7 separate regions of the Homo sapiens genome follow, and regions 1, 3, 4, 5, 6 and 7 are each linked to region 2. Evidence: promoter capture Hi-C in 16 types of primary human blood cells and fetal thymus (Javierre and others, 2016). All regions are on one chromosome and are shown on one strand. The core of a region is centred on a gene start or on the middle of the fragment in contact, and the rest is flanking DNA. Distances in the headings are between cores, read along the strand shown. Region 1 has its middle 13 kb from the start of RPUSD4. Region 2 holds the start of CHEK1 (checkpoint kinase 1). Region 3 overlaps TMEM218 (transmembrane protein 218). Region 4 overlaps CCDC15 (coiled-coil domain containing 15). Region 5 overlaps FAM118B (family with sequence similarity 118 member B). Region 6 overlaps SLC37A2 (solute carrier family 37 member 2). Region 7 overlaps FAM118B (family with sequence similarity 118 member B).

Region 1 (2,700 bases), core at 30-2,529, 570 kb before region 2:
CTGCCTGAGCAGCAGGTCTTGCTAGGTACAGTGGCTATCTTTTTTTTTTTTTTTTTTTTTTTTTTGAGACAGAATTTCACTCTTGTTGCCCAGGCTGGAGTGCAATGGCGTGATCTCCACTCCCCACAACCTCTGCCTCCCGAGTTTAAGCGATTCTCCTGCCTCAGCCTCCCGAGTAGCTGGGATTACAGGCATGTGCCACCATGCCCGGCTAATTTTGTATTTTTAGTAGAGATGGGGTTTCTCCATGTTGGTCAGGCTGGTCTCAAACTCACAACCTCAGGTGATCCACCTGCCTCAGCCTCCTAAAGTGCTGGGATTACAGGCATGAGCCGCCGTGCCTGGCCCAGTGGCTATCTTTAATTACTGACAATAATATAAGAGGAATTTTACCCCAGGTTAGTGTGGCCTGAGAAATGGGTTACACAGCAAAGGAGGTTGGAATGTGCCTAAAATGAACTGCATCTATTTTGAAATACTGATTAGAGCCAGCTAAAAGATATGATTTAGTGTTAAGTCATATACAGTAATTAGTATAAGAAAATGGGCTTCTTAAATTTCTATTTTTATCAAAGTTCTATGTGCACATGATTTAAAAAATCAAGAACTATTCTGCTCAAATGACTCTGGTTAAAAAAAGAATAAGAAAAAATCAAAATGAAAAATCAAGAACTAAAGGCTTGCCATGAAAAGCAGCAGCTCCTTGCCCACGTAGGGATTTTGTTTGCTGTGAGCTCTGGGAGGTGCTTGTGCTCAGCAGAGGGGGGAGGCCGGCTCTCCCAGTGCCCCTTCTGGTGGCAGCACTGGCTCTTCTGCTCCAGGAGGCAGCTTTTGGGTAGCTGGTTTTTTTCTGTGCTAGGCATGCCCAACCTAATAAGCCCACAGAGCACTTTCTCAATCCTCGTATCACACGTCTTTGCATTTGATAACCGAATTGCCCACTCTGAGCTCCTCACTCGCTTTGATTCCATGAACTCCTCCTGCATCTCCTTGTCTGACCTCCTTCCAGGCTCCTTGAAGGGCCCCAGCATGGTGCCCCCCAGAGCTCCATCTTGGCATCCTGCCCCTCTCCCAGAGGGAGAGCTGGGCCAACTTGGGAAGCCTCTACCTGTGTGCTGACGACTCGCTAGTCTGTCTCTGACCTTGATCTCCCCCTTGAGCTCCTTATCTTCACATCCATCTGCCTGTGATCGTCTCCCCTTGGGAGCTCCCTCTCCGGGCCTGTTGCTCCTGTCCTCTTACCTGCCTTAGTTTAGATGGCATCACCAGAGACCTGGGAATCACCCTTAACTCCTCCCTCGCACCAGTCCCCAAATCCAATTAGCCACTAATTCTTTGCCAGTTCCATCTAAAACCCTTCTCTTAAAATGCACTTCCCTCTTTAATTCTAATATCTCCTGAGCACCAATTTCACCGTCCCCACCCTTCAGCTATGATGGGATAGGTCTGGGAGGTGGAAGGGCATAGTGGGTTAGAAATAGGATCATAGGCAACCTGCTAGTTCCCACCAGAAACCAAACTCACAACGGGGTGTTGAGACCATCCCCAGGTTCCTGGGGATAGAGCAGTGTGGGAGGGGGTACCTGTTTTAAACAAGACAGGCAAATAGAGCAGCCTCCCACCATGTTTTCTAGGTCTGCTCTCCTTGGCTCTCTGGACTGCTTTTAGCCAGAGTGCCTGGTAGGATATACAAAAACATGGCCTCCTGCTTGTGCTTGTGCAAAGCATGCCATGTGGGTGCAGACAGCTTCTCCCAGTGCGGAGCAAAATCTGCTGGCTCAGGGCAATGTAATTCAAACACCAGCTACCCAGCGTTAGGCCAGATGTCACAAGTTAATGGCACATTCCACAGGACTTGCCTCACTTCAGACACCAGCTGCAAGCTCTGGGGTTTTCCAGCCACCTGTACTTCTGACCAACTAGCTATGAATTCAAGAGTGTTCACAAACCCCTCAGGTTTGATCATTCACTAGAATGACTCCCAGAACTCAGCAAAGCACTAGCTATGCTTACTATTATGGTTTTGCTGTAGCAATAAAATGATATGAATCAGGACCAGCTAAAAGAAGAGATGCATGGGCAAGGTCTGGGAGAGTCTCCAGCATGAAGCTACCGTGTCCTCTGCCCACCGTGTCACCCTCCCAACACATGGATGTGCATCACCAGCCAGGAATGTCACCCAAGCCCTGGTGTCCAGAGTTTTTATTGGGGTTTCATTATGTTGTCGTGGTTGAACAATTGGCTACATTGTTGAACTCGGTTCTGCTGGGTTCAAAGTGCCAACCCTCTAATCACATGGTCGGTCTTTTTGCATGGCCAGCCTGAAACTACCCATCCTGAAACTAAAGCCCCACCGTGAGTCCTCACATTTAATAGCGTAAACTATTAGGGCTCATCATGAATAACAAAAAATGTTAACATCACTTGGGAAATTCCAAGGATTTAGGTTCTCTCTCCCAGGAACCAAGGACGAAAGCAAGGCAAATTATTATAGAACTCTGAGTTTTCCTCTCCATCCCCCACTCCCTTAGGCGTCTCTTGATGTCCTCTCTTAGGGATCCCTTCATCTTGCTGTCCCCCAGCGAGTGACCAGCCTAGGTGGCTGTCTGCATAGATGCCCCTGTTGGTTGTGGCCTTAGGATCCTTTCAGGCAAGAAGCCTTGAGATATTTCTGTTCACTTCCCTCCTGGCACCTGCTGT
Region 2 (2,700 bases), core at 163-2,662:
ATTTTGTCGTGTAAATCACAATCGCCACTCCCAAGCACACCGAAGGTTGAAATTCTGCCCTCCTCAGGCCCCAGAGGAAATTAATTGTTGTTATGAAGAGGTGGGAGACAAATGCTTTCCGGCGAACGACTGGGGAAGGAGGAGGGAGAGGTGGGGGTCTGGGGAAGAGAGGAAGAGGATATAGGGAGCGGTATGGGGCAGAAAACGCCTGCGGCAGCGCCTCCTCCCAATTGCTCAATTCCAATTCCCATCCCCATCCACAGCCCCACCCGTCCCAAAGGCCGGGGCGGGGCCAAACTGCCCCCAGAGGCGAAAGGAAGGGCTGGGACTCTTCCTTGGGGTTCTTAGCTAGCAGCGGGTTAGTCCCTCCTGCCCCCGCCCCCACAACGGGAACCTCCTGGTACCATTCCTCCACCCTCCGAAACCGCCCCTCCGCAGGAGTCTCTCCAATCCCCTGCGCTAGTCAATGCTAACTTTCTCCCACCATGCCCTCCCTCACTAATCTAGACCCCGAACTCCTTCTTTAGAAACCTTCCCTACTCTACCGGCCGCCCTTCCTCACCGGACTGTCCTTTGCCCACCACTGCAGGAATCCAAATGCAGCGCTTTTCCCGCCAAAACTTGAGGGCGTCACGCTGCCGCAAACTCGCGCACCCGCGCCGTAAAGCAAGACAGCGCGCGTTCCCGTGTCCTGCCCCTCTGAATGTCGGCGGCTCCAAAAGGGTGACGTGGAGATGTTGCCGCTCCCGCCCAGGGCTGCTTTGCAGTCGGGGAGAGATCCTGGCTGAAGAGATTTAAGGACGGCGGACCGCATCGGCGCGAATTGAGCTCTGGGCCCAAATATGAAGTGGCATCCGGTGTGAGGCTCGACTGGGCGGTGCTCGAGCGCTGCTGGGGGAAGCCCAGGCCTCCAAGCCTCAGGGGCGCGCGACCGACCGCGCTGCGCTTCCAGGCGGGGCTGCGGGCTTCGCTCCTGGCCGCTCTGGGCCTGAAAGGCTGCACCGCCACCTGCGTGAGGCCACCGGACAGGACTGTGAGGATCACAGTCGGTGAAGCAGAGTGCTTTGTAAACCTCAGAGTGCGGTACTCGTGGTGCTGGAGCCGAGAAACCAGCAGCAGCTGCTGAGAGCCGACTGTGAAGAAATGGGAGGAACTCCGTGTTGGGAGCGAGAGGCTTCGAAAGAACTGGCCACGCAGTCAAGTGTGTGTGGCGGGGCAAGTTTCCCGGAGAAAGCGAGCAGTTTATGTTGGAGCTTGAAGTCAGGATAACCAGTTTTGCCTTTTTTCTGTGAACCAGCTCCAAAACAATGCTTTACTTCAGCCCGGTCTTTTTGCAGGAAGACCATCTGCTTAGCTTAGTTCTACAAACTTTTTCATTTTTAATGTGCAAAGAACAGGCGGGGAGAGCCAAAATAAATCTTACAACGCAAATTTAAAAGCTGCGTACGTCATTTAAGTGGAAAAGTAAATTCTGAGGAAAGAGACTCAAGAACAAAATAGGAAAAATGGAAATAAGTATTCTCTGACAGTAAACTAGACTGGAACTCAGGGATAGGCAGGATCATCTCCATTACATTCTCCAGCACTGGCCGGGCGCAGTGGCTCCTGCCTGTAATTCCAGCACTTTGGGAAGGCGAGGCAGGAGAATGGCTTGAGGCCAGGAGTTCAGGACCAGCCTGGGGAACATAGGGAGACCCCATCTCTACAAATAAAAAAATTTAGGAATTAGTCGGGCTTGGTGGTGTGTCCCTGTAGCCCTAGCTACTTGGGAGGCCTAAGCAGAACAATCGTTTGAGTCCAGGAGTTAGAGGTTAGTGAGCACTACTGCACTCCAGCCTGGGCAACAGCATGATTCCGTAGGAAAAAAACATATTTTTTTATATGTATATATTTTATATATATACATATATATTTTCTTAGTCCTTAAGACTGGGCCACATACAAACACTAAGCATAACTGGCTATTATGATAATAGTAAAGTGAAACAAGTATAAAATGTTACTCAAGGCCGGGGCCTGGTGGCTCACACGTGTAATCCCAACACTTTGGGAAGCTGAGGCGTATGGATCACCTGAGGTCAGCAGTTCAAGACCAGCCTGGCCAACATGGTGAAACCCCCGTCTCTACTAAAAATACAAAAATTAGCCGGGCACGATGGCGAGTGCCTGTAATCCCAGCTACCCAGGAGGCAGAGGCTGCAGTGAGCAGAGATTGTGCCACTGCACTCCAGCCTGGGCAACAGAGCAAGACTCCGTCTCAAAAACAAACAACCAACAACAAAAACACACATTTCTTTTAAAGAAGCAAAGTCAGGAACAAAAATCAAGGAAAAAACTCTTAAAATGCTTATGTGTATAGTTTTGAATCATGACATCACAGATTAGGCTTCATGTAATCTTTTTACAGTTTGTTGTTTTTGGAGACAGGGTGTGTTGCTCTGTCACCCAGGCTGGAGTGCAATTGGGCAGTCTTAGCTCACTGCAGCCTGGAACTCCTGAGCTCAAGTGATCCTCCTACCTCAGCATCCCAAGTCACTGGGATTACAGAAGCGAGCCACAGGGCCTGGTATAAAAATAAAAGCAAGTTTTTATATCATTTATCCCATTTTCTCTTGTTTCCTCACTGTGTGCTGAAAACAAAGAATACGAAGAGGAAGACCTGCAAATTTCCTGTGTGTCTGATGGAGTCTTTTTAGCCTG
Region 3 (2,700 bases), core at 172-2,671, 520 kb after region 2:
CTCCTGGGAGGTGGCCAGGTGCACATTCTGAAGACGAGACATGGGGGGCATTGTTTTCCTGTCGCCAGTTTGAATCTGCAACAGGGTTGGGGAGAAGCTTAGAGTTCAAGTGGGGTGTTCCCAGGCTGCAGTGCTGTGAGATCCAGAGAGCGGATAGACCGAGGCTCTGCAGCGCTTCCAACCCACAACACCGTCCAGGAGAGGGATGCAAGGAAGAGACCTAGGTTTACTGATCCTCCTTTTTCTATCAACGTGTTAAGAGCAGATGCTACATCGGTGGCATTTTGGGAGCTTGGCAACTGATTTTTTCCCCAGGCTTGCATTTTATCTAATTACAAAGGTAGAGGCGTTATTCTAATATTTTAAAATTCAAAAGATAGTGAAGTGTTTAAAGTAGAAACATAAAAGTGTGAAAGTAACCCCCCCCCCCCGTTATTTTTGAAGGTTTGGAAAACAGCTATAAAGCAAAGTGAAAAGGACTCTTCCAGAGGAGCACTTCACTCCTTGTAACCCACTGTTTTCTGTTGCTTTCAAGGGCTTGAGTCAGTGTGAAAATCGGGGGATGGGTGAGATATCTCCCTCCAGCAGCAGCACTTAGGCCACATTACCCTCTGAGGAATCCACATTTGTCTTAGATAGTAAGTCATCTTATAAGTCATCTTATAATGGCAGTTAGTATTCTCGCTCATGATGATCAACCTGGTGATGAGTACCGTATTTTTAATCCATTAGGTTACCTGTGCAGGGATCAGTCCATTTATTCCTATTTTCTCTGACAGCTGGATGAAAGGGTATGTAGAAACAACCATTAAATGAACACACACATCTAAAAGGTTTTGAACAAACTCTCTCAGAGAAAAACCTCACAGCATTGAGCACAGAAGGAAAACATTAGCCCTGTAGTTGCTTTTGTTGTCAGCTGCTGAACTGTTCAAATTTAAATTATTTTTTTTCACTCCAGTCTACCTGCTTTAAATGCCACAGATATTAAGTAAATGGACTTACCCTTGAAATCGGGTTGGCCAAGCCATCACTTCTCAAAGAAGGTTTAATGATGGCATGAACCCGTTTTTATATTTTATTGTATTGTACTCAATAACAATAATTTAGCTATTCTAATATGGGAAATTATCACAGATATTATTCTCACATTTAAATAAGATAAAAATGACTAGATGTTCTCTCTTCCTCTATAGCAGCACTCTATACTATACCCAGCCCTTCTTTTCTATGCTTAGTAAGAAAATGTATAGTTTGCTTATAAAATTATGAGCTCCATTCTTAAAAGAGCTTGGGAATATTTATCTTATTACTTTAAAGCCATACCATATATAAATCCAATGTCTCACGAACTCTTAAGCTACTAAGGGGGATTGAAGGGCAACATTTCTAATGGCGCCAGCCAGCTTCAACTACCATTTGCCCTCTATTCTAACTGTTAGAGTTGGTCCAAGTCTTCTGGGTTATTTGTGTAATATCCAGAATAGCACAAATTAAATTTAAATAGTTGTTTTCTTAAGAGCAGTACCATCAGCTCAGTCAACTAAGCTAGAAACTTGTGTCATTTCTAACACCTTCTCCCTTGACACAGCTAAGACTGGAGGTCAGACCCTCATCATCTCTTATCTGGAGAATTGCAATAGTTTCCTAACTGGTCACCCAATTCATATGCATCCTGCTGCCCATTACCTTTTTAAAAATTAAAAATTATCACGAAAAATTTAAAAACAGAAAATAGTACATTGGGTAGTATAATATCTATGTTCCACCAATCAGATTAATAAATATTAACATTTTGGCACACCAGCTCAAGTTTTTTATTTTAAAGAAATAAAACATCACAGATTTAGTTCAGATCCCTTTTATTTCCACTCCTAACCCCATTCCCTTTCCTTCCTCCCTCTGCAGAGGCAAATAGTCTTTTGAAATTGTCATGTATTGTTTATGCCCATGTTTTTATACTTTTGCTGTATATACGTTCGTCAGAAACAATATATATTACTGTTTAGATTGTATTTAATTTTAAAAATACAAGTAGTATCATACTGTGGGTTCCATTTTGCAACTTGTTTTTGTCACTCAACATTGTTTTTGAGATATATTCACATCAATACATATAGATCAATTTCATTCATTTTAAGTATTCATTATGAATATATAATATTGTATCTGTTCCCTGATTGATGGACATTTAGGTTTTTTCCTGATGTTTTGCTATTGTAAACAAAGCTGCAATAAACACCTTGTACATGTCTCTTTATGCAAGACTGTGTCTAGAACAGTGGTTCCCCAAGAAGATGTTGCTGCCCGTTTTAGGGTGTTTTGGAATTTGTGAAGATGTATTTTGTTATTCTTTGATTGGAGGCACTACTGGGGTTTACAGATCAGGACTGCGGATACTGGATGTTCTGTAATGTATGGGACAGTCCTCACAACGAAGAATTGTCCTGCATCCTGTGCAAATTTTGAGTATCCCACAGGATACTCATTTATAATTATCTGAGTGTAGAGCCTAACTCCGGTTTTTGTATAAACATAATGTATTTTTTGGCACAGTTTAATATAGTAAAATTTCCAGGAATGCAACTCTAATGTAAATCAGAGGAAAATTATACTTATTTGTGGTTTGGAACTTTAACAAGAGTTGTTCATCACTCTAGCAAATCACATAACTGAAGGCAGCACAGCTCGTGGTATTTG
Region 4 (2,700 bases), core at 94-2,593, 670 kb after region 2:
TTTAGGGGATAGGGAAAATATCATAGACATAAAATAAAAAGAACAGGTACTTACAGCCTGGGCTTGTTGTTGGAATAATTCGTTCTGATTCTCTTCATCCTCTATTCCATCCCCAGGCATCAGGGAAGGAGGTAACCTAGAACTTCCAATAGCAACATTCAAATTGTTTGGAAAAACACTTGTCCTTTTGGAAGTTAAGTGTGTTGCTGAAGACTGCATGGCTATGGAGCCTTCTTTTTGTGCCTACACGAAAGAAGAAAGGGGGATAGTAACATTCTACCCCAATCCAGAGCAATCAAATAATGCCTCTAAAGCAGTTCAGAAGATTTTAAATTGGGGTGGGGGGCAGGGGAGAGGCTTTAGCTGGCAGAGAAACTAACATTTACCAGGCACCTCCCATGTGCTAATAATTTAGGTTATCTCATCTAACTCTCACACAATCCTATGAGAGAAGTATCATATCCTTATTTTATGGATGAAGAAACTACAATCAGTGAAGTTAAGTAATTAGCCAAAAGTCAATAGCTAGAAGTAGCAAAGCCAAAATTCAAACTCAAGTCTGAACCCAAAATTCTGACATTGCTTTTAACTACTTGGTAAAAGCAAAAAATTGAGTCAGAACACAGGAATAAAACATGGTTTCTCTACAAAAAAAATTTACTGTCTTCACTAGTTAATTAGATTATATTAGGCATGTAATCAAAGGAAAGCAATTCTGTTACTGCCTAATAGCTTATCTCATAACACACATATTTTCCATTCAATCTTTACTCAGGCTCACTTTTGAACTTACTCTTTCATAAGACTTCTGAAGCTGTTGCTTTTTTCTCAACCTAATTTGTTGATTTACTCGGTATTTAACTTGTTTCTGAAAATGTTTCAAAGCTTCTTGTTTTTTTCTTAGCTGTTCCTTTAGTTCTTCTTCAATTAAATATGCTGATGTCTTTAAAGATGAAAGACAGAAAATGAACTTAAATGTTAGCAGTTTTGTCCATTAGGGCTGTTTTAAACACAAAACAGTCAGGATAAGGATACAATCCTGAAAAAAATAATTCCATTCTGTACAAAAAAAAATGGAATGTATGAGTATCAAATCTTAAATTTTTTATTGAATTAGAACTAACGATGTCTTCATTAAATCTTAATGAACCAAATAAAACCTAACACGTTACACATTTTCTAAAATGGAGTAAATAGTCAAGACACACCAGGTTACTTACCACTCACCAAATATGTCCTATTGTTAAAATGTCTTCATATTTGGCATTATGCTCCATTTTTAACCTGGCATGCCCTTCCTTTCATCTCCACCTAGTAAAGGCCTATTCAGTTTTCACAACCATTTAATACCCACTCCCCAGTACCTTCCACAACACTCTCTCTCTAAGCCCTCTTATGCTATAACACCTCTCATTTCACCAATGTTAACTGAGTATAGTACTTCTTGACTCCCCTACTAGATTATGAACTCTTTGAGGACAGGATATGTATTCAATTCTCCTTTATTTCCCCTACGGCATCTAGTACAGAGCCTTCACTATAAGGGTAGTCAATATATATTTATATAATTGCTCAATTCCAAAACATATTCTAAACCAGGGGTGTCCAATATTTTGGCTTCCCTGGGCCATGTTGGAAGAACTGTCACATAAAATACATTAACACTAGTAGCTGATGAGAAAAAAAAAAATCACAAAAAAACTCATAGTGTTAATTAAGAAAATTTATTAATTTACATTGGGTCGCATTCAAAGCCATCCTGGGCCACATGTGGCCCATGGCCGCATGTTGGACAAGCTTGTTCTGAACAATCTGGAACACTTTATCCCATTTGAGTTCTTGATCTGCATTTATCTCCTCTAAGTGCTTTGAATAATAATCATAGTCATCATCATAACAGCACTTATCATTATTATGGATCTATCAGGTGACAAGTATTTTAACTACTTTGTAGCACTCTATCCTCAAAACCACCTTTGGCAGTAGGTATTCTTATCCCTTATGTTACAGATGAGGAAGCTGGAGTTCAGAAAGATTAAGTAATTTTAATATAGCTAACTAGTAGCAGAATTAGAAGTTTCTGACTCCAACAATTATGTTCCTCTCTACACTGCTTTTCTCTTGACTATGTCTCTCTTTCACTAGGAATTTTCAAATTAAATAAAATCATCATCATATCTCGTACCTATTCCTTCTAACTCAGTGATTCCAACTTCTAATTCTGAAGGGTACCTCAGATCATTTTACAGGCTGTCATTAAATTCTCAAAATCAAATGCATTCAAATTTCAATTTAAGTTAAAATTTCCAAGATGTCTATCCCATAAACTACTCTAGTGGAGTGTACAAGTGTCAAAGAACAATTAGGTAAAATAATTCCAACGGAGAGATATATACGTAATGAAGCCTGAACAACTGACCCAGCTTAACTCAAGCCCCAGACAAGTTTAAGCCATTCGGCCTCTTTCTTTTACCTCCATTTTCTCTGCTCCTCTTTTACTCCACAAGATTACAAGCCAGGTCATAAAGAAACTTCCACCTCTGTTCTTAGAGTGCTCATTCTGAAGGAAGTCAGCACCATATAAAAATTCAGACTACCCTGAGATTACCATGCTGTGAGGAAGCCCAAGTTAGTCAAACAGAGAAGCCATGTGAAAAGAGAAACATATCTAACCAGCACCCAGACATTCTAGTCATCCTA
Region 5 (2,700 bases), core at 140-2,639, 610 kb before region 2:
ACTAGGGTACTCACAGGAGAGAGTTTCTGGATAAGGTCATGGGCAACATGGACCAGGTTCTTGTCTTCATGGAGACATTTCTGAAACTTTTTGCTCTCCTCATCTTCTAAAAGATCAAAATCAATGGCAGCATCCAGTAAGGCCTGAATTAACCCCTTCCAGGATTTGAGGGCTGGAACTTGGGGCGCAACTGCAGCACTAATGCCTGTTCCAATCACTAGCACAAGTTCTCGAGGCTTCTTAGTTTTTAAGCTTGGAAGCAGCTTCCTATAAAAGCAAAACAAATGAGAGGATTGGAATATCCAATAGATATGAGGCACACAGAAAGACTGTCTGACTCAGGTTACAGTTTTTAGCTAACTTTTATAGTTGCAAAGAAGATGAACAGCAGTTTTTGACACCTTTCCAAAGCAGTTTAAAGAAAACAACCAGAATATTGTGTCAGTGCTTGCTGAAAAACAAGTCATAAACCTATTTCAGGAATCCCAAAACCAATCTTAAAATCAGTTTTCCCTTCCTAGTCCTCTCAACCTAAGAAATTCCACTAATATTAGGAAAAGATCCAAATAGACTATAGCTCAGCTGACTTCTGCCAACTAAATTATATTTTAAACCAGTATTAAATTTCAAAAGAAGACGTTTGATTTGTACTCTAGAAAAAGAGAAAAGAACCCCAGGACAAATTAAGTTCCTATTATTGAGAAATGTAAAACACTAGGGGAAAGGCAATACAAAATTTAATTCTGAATTTTGTAAACATTAACCTCAGGCAAAAAAAAAAAAGAAAAAAAAAGTGGCCAATAGAATTCTGAAAACACAGGGGCCCTACATACCTAAATAAAGACATTAACTAATCAAAGGACATGACAAAAAGTGAAAAACATTCCTTTCTTACCATGATAAGCAGAGACAGACTTCTCTGTTCTGAGGCCCATATGTGAGACAGCATGGGTGCTAATTTTTGTTTTTGTTCCCCTCTCTTTCATTCTGGAGACTATCCCTGCTTGAAATATGTTCCTTCACATTAATTTTTGCTGATGGCATGTTCCCCTCCCCTGAAAATGGCTTCTCCCCAACCTTTTTGTCTAAATAATAAAATGGAGAGGATCAGCATTTTGGCATAACTCAAGAAAGGAATAGCACTTTCAAGCCTTGGGAAACCTGGTTTTGGGGACACAGCCTCTAAAACTGCTTTCCCTAACCCGAGCTTCTGCATTCAGTCATTCAACAAATATGAAAAACCGAGGCCAGGAGCAGTGGCTCACGCCTGTAATCCCAGCACTTTGGGGGGCCAAGGTGGGCTGATTACTTGAGGTCAGGAGTTCAAGACCAGCCTGGCCAACATGGTGAAACTCTGTGTCTACTAAAAATACAAAAATTAGCTGGGTCTGGTGGCGCACACCTGTAGTCCCAGCTACTAGGGAGGCTGAGGCAGGAAAGGAAAACCTGTATGTACCAGACACTACGGGAGTCATGTATCCATGAACAAAATGGAGTCCCTGATCTTGAAAGATCAGTCTACTAGAAAAGACATTAATAATAGATGTTAGAAGCAAATGATGAAAAATGAGTTTCAGTTCAGAGCAATCAAGATAGTGAAGCATACACAAATCCACATAAACAAATATACACACACATAGAAAATTTCTAGGATTCACAAGATGTATAAATAGTGGTTAAATGGGGATAGCAGAGAATAAGGACTTTTTACTTTTCATTTTATACTGTTGTACTGTATTTTTTTATATAACATACAGATTTGAACTATAATTCTTCCTAATTAAGACTTCCAATTTGGCTAAGTGCAGTGGTTCATGCCTGTAATCTCAGCACTTTAGGAGGCTGAGCTTGAGCCCAGGAGTTTGAGACAAGCCTAGGCAACTTAGTGAGACCCCATCTCTGCCAAACAAAGAAAGAACGAAAAAGAAAATTAGGCACGTCTGTAGTCCCAGCTACCTGGGAGGCTAAGTTCACGGGAGGATCACGTGAGCCCAGGAGGCTGAGGTTGCAGTGAGCTGTGTTTGTGCCACTGCACTCCAGCCTGGGTGACAGAACAAGACCTTGTCTCGAAAAAAAAAAAAAAAAAGACTTCCACTTAAAAATAAAACATTTAACAATTGTGTTTTATTACTGGTTCTTTGTAAACCACCAAATAATAGTTACTTTTTTTTTTTAGCGGGTATATATACCTAAAAAGTAGGCTAGGTAAAGATGACAGCAGACAACAGAGGTCAAAGGGCAACAACATTTTACCAATTGTAATGCAAAGGCCGATTCCCTTGGTAGAATTTTGGGAATGTTCATGTACATCTAAAGGTAGAGGGGCTGGTGGGGCTAAAATAGGAGAATCAGTTACAAGCCTTTAACAGTTACAACTTTCAGCAGGCTAGAGGTTTCCCTTCTGCAGAGGTTGACCAGAGGACTATATCTGAGAACACTGCACACAGCTGAGGGTGGGGATTAAGTAAAAGTCTGTATATAAAATACAAGATTTCCCCCAACTCTCTTTCCCCAGAGGAAGCTTTTCAGACTCTAGGAATCAACTCTGTACCTGCACCCCTATCCCCCATCCAGTTAGGAAATGAGGACGATTCCTCTTTCAGGAAAATGGCCAGTATGAGATGAAAAACCTGCAGATTCTGACAGGTGGGAATTCCTTAACTCTACATAGAGTCTGGGACCAAGCCCCTTATGTACACA
Region 6 (2,700 bases), core at 148-2,647, 560 kb after region 2:
AGTGGGCACCAGGATCCGGCAGTGAAAGCCCTTAGCTAACTCCACAGGGCAGAACCATCCATTCTAGCTCAGCTGTGGCCTTTTGCAGCTCACAGGGGAAGATCGAGGTGTGGGAAAAATGGCACCACAGGAGCTCACAGCTCCTGCTCTTCCTGCCTGCCCAATTCACCCTCCTGCCCATTCCTGCTCATCCAGCTGTGGTCACCCTGGTATTTCCTCCCACAGGCTCTTCTTCTGCACGTTCTGGGCCATCCCCCTCAGAGGGCCCCAGGAAATGGGCCCAGCCCCATAAGCACCAGCCACAGTCATCTCCCATGCTGCCAGCTGCCCCCAGACGCACCCACACAGACACTGGTACAAAAGGCAGGAACCAGCCAGGCTCCAGGCTGGGGAACCTCCAGGTGCTCTGTGGCTCTGAAACGCCATGGACAAGCCATTCATTGTCATCCTGACGAGGAAGGCCTAACAGGAGGAGGAGAGCAACATCTTCCTGGACAGAAACTCCGCCATCTCTGACTCTTGCCTGGATGTCTGCAGCTGTCTCCACACACCTGGCGCCACATGACTCCCAGCCTCCTGTCCAGGGGCACCTTTTGTTCCTACCAGCTGGAGCTACATGTTACTACTTCAGAGACAGGGGACAGGCCATGTCTCCACTTGCATGCCTTTGCTGGCTCTGTGACCTCTGCTCAGAACACCTCCAGATCCAAGTCAAAGACTTCCTTCTTCTCCTAATGGAGATGATTCTCTCCCTCCACAGAAATTTATAAGCACCTAGCCAATACCAACTACGCTAGACACTGGGCTAAGTGCTTTAAGCAGCTTCTCATTTAATTTCACCAAAACCCCGTGATATAGGTACATCATTTTTTCCATTTCATAGATAAGGAAATTGAGCCTGGGAGATGTTAAGTAATTTGTCCAAGGCCAAATGGCCATGTAATCTTTTCCCCACCCAACACTATCATTAGGAAGGCAGCGGAAAGACCATGGGCTTACGAGTCAGACTAATCTTGATTCCAACTCCAGCTCAGTCATTTATCAGCTGTGTGGTGCTGGACAGGCTTACATAACTGCTCTGTGCCTCATTACACTCATATGTTCCACAGGGAAGCTAACATTCACCTTGCAGTTCCACAAAAATTACAAATAAACAATGCCTGGCACAAAGTAGTAGGAAAAACAAATAGAATATAGTCAATCATTAGTGTTTACTCAGTGTTTCATATCAGCCTGGCACTGACCTAAGTACCTTACACGTAGTACCTCATTTAAACCTCAAAACACTCGTGTGATACAGGTATTATTATTATCCTCATTTTACAGAGGAGGAGTCCAAGGCCCAGGGCCAGTCCACTTTCAGCTTCCTATTCTGTCTTCTTCACTTCTTAAATGCCCTCCTTGGGGACATGTGAAAGCAGTTAAATGTGACAGAGATTTGATTTCTCATTTTCAGACTATAAGTCTTTATTTTTATTTGTCTGCACCCTGGCCTGTATTTTGTTTAGCACAAGAAAGGTGAATTGGGTTAATATGTATCTGTAATAATAACATCACCATCATTAATAATGATAGTAAAAGCCGCCATGTATTCCATGCTTCCTGTATACCAGGCAATGTATACATATAATCTCTAACCTTTTATGTGTTAAGTGCTCAGCAAGTCAGTTTTCTTCAAAATCTCCCCAACCGACTTCTGCATTCCCCTCGCTGGTCCTCTGAATGACATGGCACATAGGAAATGCCATCCTTTGGCACTCAATAAGTAGAGCAGGGCCTTCTAAAATTGCTGACTGTGTGTACACAGCCCCTCTCCAGCTTGATTCTTAGTTCCAAGAAGGTAGAACCCTGTCTTGATTGTCTTTGCAGGCCTCAGAGCTCAGCATAATAATGTACTTACAGAAGAACTACGTGACATTTAGTGTTTGATAGGAATCCAAATCTAAACTTATCTGGAAGGAAGTAAAAGGATACCTGTTGAGTACCCTCCAGCAGCCACAAGACGTCAAGAATGTTTCCTTATATTATCGCATTTATCCTCAAGAACCCATCTGACTTTTATTGATGAGGAAACTGGGGCTCAGCAAAGTCAAGGCTCACAGTGGTGAAAGGATTTCAACCAAGGTCTGTCATAAATCCCAGAGATGTTGGGGAATACCGTAGCTGAATTCACACCTTGAGAAGTGTGAAAGTGAAGAGTGTTGGAGGCTGGAGAAAGTCATGTTATGCGTATTACTGAGCCCTTCTAGAATGCCAATGTGTTCTAGATGGTTTATAATGATCCACCCTCCCCACTCCCCATTCTCTCTGAAATGTTAGTTACTTTGGTTAAAAGATATAACTAATATACATGAATGAGACTCTACTAGGAACAATCGTGGCAGAGAGGTATGACTTTGTATACATGGTATTGAAACCTGTTTTTGTTTATTAAAAGGAAAAATATTACACATAAGAAAAATGACTGGTTGTTCCAGAATAAGAAAGGGAACAGGGAAGGTCAAATCTGAATGGATACATTTTAGGTTTGTAGAAAGGAAATTTGATTTGTCTTGGATTATAGTACATCAAACAATAAGTCTAAAAATAAGCAATTAAATGTGTTAAAATTTTGCCAAAGTTGGCAAAATCTTGATAAGTTTGTGAATATTTAATTTAAAAAGAGGAAGGGCTCCTGGAAAACCACAAAGATTTGTTCTT
Region 7 (2,700 bases), core at 22-2,521, 630 kb before region 2:
ATGTGGCTCCTAACTATGATACTAGACAGTGAAGATTATACAGTATTTTTATGACTGCAGGAAATTCTACTGGATAACACTTGGCATAGATAATAGTTCAGAAAAAGTAAAAAGCTGAACACATGGAAGAAAATAGTCATTAGAAATATGGTCAATTACAGTATAAACAGGCATGGTACTCAAATATACAAATTGATATTACCCTCGTAGAAAACAATTTAGCAGTATTTATAAATTACTGAAATGTTCCTGATCTTTGACCTGATTACAGTGAGAACTCATCAAGGAAATTACTGGAAAAACTGAAGAGATACAGATGTTATTTTCACAACATGACTTACAAAAAACTGGCAAAAAAAATATCAGACGTTGCCTAACAGGAATAATTAGGTAAACTGTAACACCCCTACTGGAATATAAAAGTCAATTAAAATAGTGGTTATGAAGATAGGGATGTGGGAAAATGTACAATCCACTACTGAATTTTCAAAGGACCAAAAAAAAAAAAAAATCACTATATTTTGTTTACAACTATGAAAAAAAGCACAGGGAAAACTTCATCAGAAATGTGCCAAGGCCAGGTGCTGTGGCTCACACCTATAATCCCAGAACTTTGGGAAGCTGAGGTGGGAGGATTGCTTGCACTTAGGAGACTGAGAACAGCCTGGGCAACATGGCGAAACCCCATCTCTACAAAAAATACAAAAATTAGCTGGGCATTGTGGTATGTGCCTTTAGTCTCAGCTACTCGGGAGGCTGAGGTGGGAGGATCGCCTGAGCCCGGGGAGGTCAAGGCTGTGGTGAGCCATGACTGTGCCATTGTACTGCAGCCTGGGTGAAAAAGCAAGACCCTGTATCAAAAATAGTAATAATAATAAAATAAAAATAAAGCTGGCACAGTGGCTCACGCCTGTAATCCCAGCACTTTGGGAGGCTGAGGTGGGTGGATCACGAGGTCAGGAGATCGAGACCATCCTGGCTAACACAGTGAAACGCTGTATCTACTAAAAATACAAAAAATTAGCCGGGTGTGGTGGCGGGCGCCTTTAGTCCCAGCTACTCGGGAGACTGAGGCAGGAGAATGGCGTGAACCCAGGAGGCAGAGCTTGCAGTGAGCTGAGATTGCGCCACTGCACTCTAGCCTGGGTGACAGAGAGAAACTCCATCTCAAATCAATAAATAGGCCCGGGCATGGTGGCTCACGCCTGTAATCCCAGCACTTTGGGAGGCCAGGGCGGGTGGATCATGAGGTCAGGAGACCGAGACCATCCTGGCCAACATGGTGAAACCCCATCTCTACTAAAAATACAAAAAATTAGCCGGGCATGGTGGTGGGCGCCTATAGTTCCAGCCACTCAGGAGGCTGAGGCAGGAGAATCACTTGAACCCAGGAGGCGGGGGTTGCAGTGAGCCGAGATTGTGCCACTGCACTCCAGCCTGGCGTCAGAGCGAGACTCCATCTCAAAAAAAAAAAAAAAAAAAGTACCACAACGACTGCTTGTATGGTAATGGATTATAAGAATTATTTTTCTTTTTCCCACTGCTTGATTTTTCCAAAATATGTGTAACTACATACTATAGAATCCTTTGAAGACAATTAATTTCCACTATGCAAAAGTGAGTATACAGCACAATGCCAGGCACATAGCAAAGGTTCAGTGTTAAAAAACAAAATAACAGCAAAAGACCTGTAACCTCTCATTAGTCTATATCTACAGAGACTCAAAACATTATGCAAGGGTGAAAGATAAGGTTGACTCGTTTCAAAATGAAATGATGTTTTAACCTGAAACTGCTCTACTACATTTCACATGACAAACTCAGCTGACCATTCCCATAAAGCACTCTGGCCATACTGAAAATCCTTGATTTTGTTTAAAGATACAGAACACCTTAATGATGGGTAACTTCGGGGAAAGCTACTCTGGTAGGAAGCCTACACAGCTAATAAAAGAATTTGTGCCATTCCACAATAGCAGTTAAGGTTCCTTAGAGCAATCTTAGTGCACTAAGGAACCTTACTGCTTCTTTGTTATGTAATGCAACAGTCTAAAGACATATTTATTTTTTGCTAAGATTTAGTGCAACAGAAACAGTTATGCAGACGGATTTTGCTGTTTTAAACTTTAGCATCTTTCCTCAGCATATAGATCAAAAGAAATATGTAGAACTTGGATATGTATGTCTTGTTAATGAAAACAACATGTGCAACAGAAAAGCCTTCTCAAAGTCTCAAGTGTGGGCAAACAACAGCAGGAGAGTCTAGAACACTGCAGGACACCAGAAAAACTCATTTCCAACAAAGAATAGTAAATAGTTTTCACAAATGAGACTTGTTCATGTGGTGATGGCTTTTAAAAGTCTGGTTCCATCAAAGCATAGCCATGGAAGAAGCTGTGTAATTTTTCATTACAGGAGAATTCTACTTGAAGCCATCTGATTCAGTTAAGAAATCTGGGGATGATTTGATTTAGGAAAACTGCTTTATGTTTATTAAATTACCTGTATGTTATTTATTTTAGAAACAGCGTCTTGCTTTATTGCTCAGACTGTAGGGCAGTGATGCAATCATAGCTCACTGCAGACTCCAACTCCTGGGCTCAAGTGATCCTCCTGCCTCAACCTCCCAAGCAGCTGGACTACAGGTGTGTGCCACCACACCTGGCTAATTTTTTGCAGAGACAGGTTCTCACTATGTTG

The links. The method cuts DNA at HindIII sites, captures the fragments that hold promoters and counts their contacts. A CHiCAGO score of 5 or more calls a contact.
Region 1: a fragment that was not itself captured here is called in contact with the fragment with the promoter of CHEK1 in region 2 in 14 of 17 cell types (erythroblasts, total CD4 T cells, non-activated CD4 T cells and 11 more); the score reaches 8.5 in erythroblasts.
Region 3: a fragment that was not itself captured here is called in contact with the fragment with the promoter of CHEK1 in region 2 in 1 of 17 cell types (fetal thymus); the score reaches 5.0 in fetal thymus.
Region 4: a contact is called between a fragment that was not itself captured here and the fragment with the promoter of CHEK1 in region 2, in 5 of 17 cell types (total CD4 T cells, non-activated CD4 T cells, fetal thymus and 2 more). The highest score is 7.8, in total CD4 T cells.
Region 5: a contact is called between a fragment that was not itself captured here and the fragment with the promoter of CHEK1 in region 2, in 2 of 17 cell types (M0 macrophages and M2 macrophages). The highest score is 5.6, in M0 macrophages.
Region 6: a fragment that was not itself captured here is called in contact with the fragment with the promoter of CHEK1 in region 2 in 1 of 17 cell types (monocytes); the score reaches 5.5 in monocytes.
Region 7: a contact is called between a fragment that was not itself captured here and the fragment with the promoter of CHEK1 in region 2, in 2 of 17 cell types (total CD4 T cells and fetal thymus). The highest score is 6.5, in total CD4 T cells.

What each region holds. Positions count from the first base shown.
Region 1 is chr11:126,196,887-126,199,586 of GRCh38, reverse strand. No RefSeq gene overlaps it. Among named protein-coding and RNA genes, the nearest start is that of RPUSD4, 13 kb to the left of the region's middle. The HindIII fragment of the contact is 5,671 bases long and covers 1-2,700 here.
Region 2 is chr11:125,623,875-125,626,574 of GRCh38, reverse strand. It overlaps CHEK1 (checkpoint kinase 1), which reads right to left and starts at 1,412. Exons shown (of 13, transcript NM_001114122.3): 1 at 563-1,412. LOC118567325 (a long non-coding RNA gene) reads left to right here and starts at 681. Exons shown (of 1, transcript NR_170378.1): 1 at 681-1,438. RefSeq lists an enhancer at 737-1,246. The HindIII fragment of the contact is 3,445 bases long and covers 1-2,700 here.
Region 3 is chr11:125,108,582-125,111,281 of GRCh38, reverse strand. All of the region lies in intron 1 of TMEM218 (transmembrane protein 218), which reads left to right. Among named protein-coding and RNA genes, the nearest start is that of TMEM218, 1.7 kb to the left of the region's middle. The HindIII fragment of the contact is 2,643 bases long and covers 100-2,700 here.
Region 4 is chr11:124,957,358-124,960,057 of GRCh38, reverse strand. CCDC15 (coiled-coil domain containing 15) reads right to left here. Exons shown (of 16, transcript NM_025004.3): 3 at 794-943; 4 at 55-243. Among named protein-coding and RNA genes, the nearest start is that of CCDC15, 4.5 kb to the right of the region's middle. The HindIII fragment of the contact is 912 bases long and covers 888-1,799 here.
Region 5 is chr11:126,238,359-126,241,058 of GRCh38, reverse strand. FAM118B (family with sequence similarity 118 member B) reads right to left here. Exons shown (of 9, transcript NM_024556.4): 4 at 15-267. It also overlaps a transcript of SRPRA not described here. Among named protein-coding and RNA genes, the nearest start is that of FAM118B, 28 kb to the right of the region's middle. The HindIII fragment of the contact is 2,269 bases long and covers 255-2,523 here.
Region 6 is chr11:125,067,608-125,070,307 of GRCh38, reverse strand. All of the region lies in intron 1 of SLC37A2 (solute carrier family 37 member 2), which reads right to left. Among named protein-coding and RNA genes, the nearest start is that of SLC37A2, 5.7 kb to the right of the region's middle. The HindIII fragment of the contact is 4,165 bases long and covers 1-2,700 here.
Region 7 is chr11:126,258,208-126,260,907 of GRCh38, reverse strand. The region is part of intron 7 of FAM118B (family with sequence similarity 118 member B); the gene reads right to left. It also overlaps a transcript of SRPRA not described here. Among named protein-coding and RNA genes, the nearest start is that of SRPRA, 9.3 kb to the left of the region's middle. The HindIII fragment of the contact is 5,808 bases long and covers 1-2,700 here.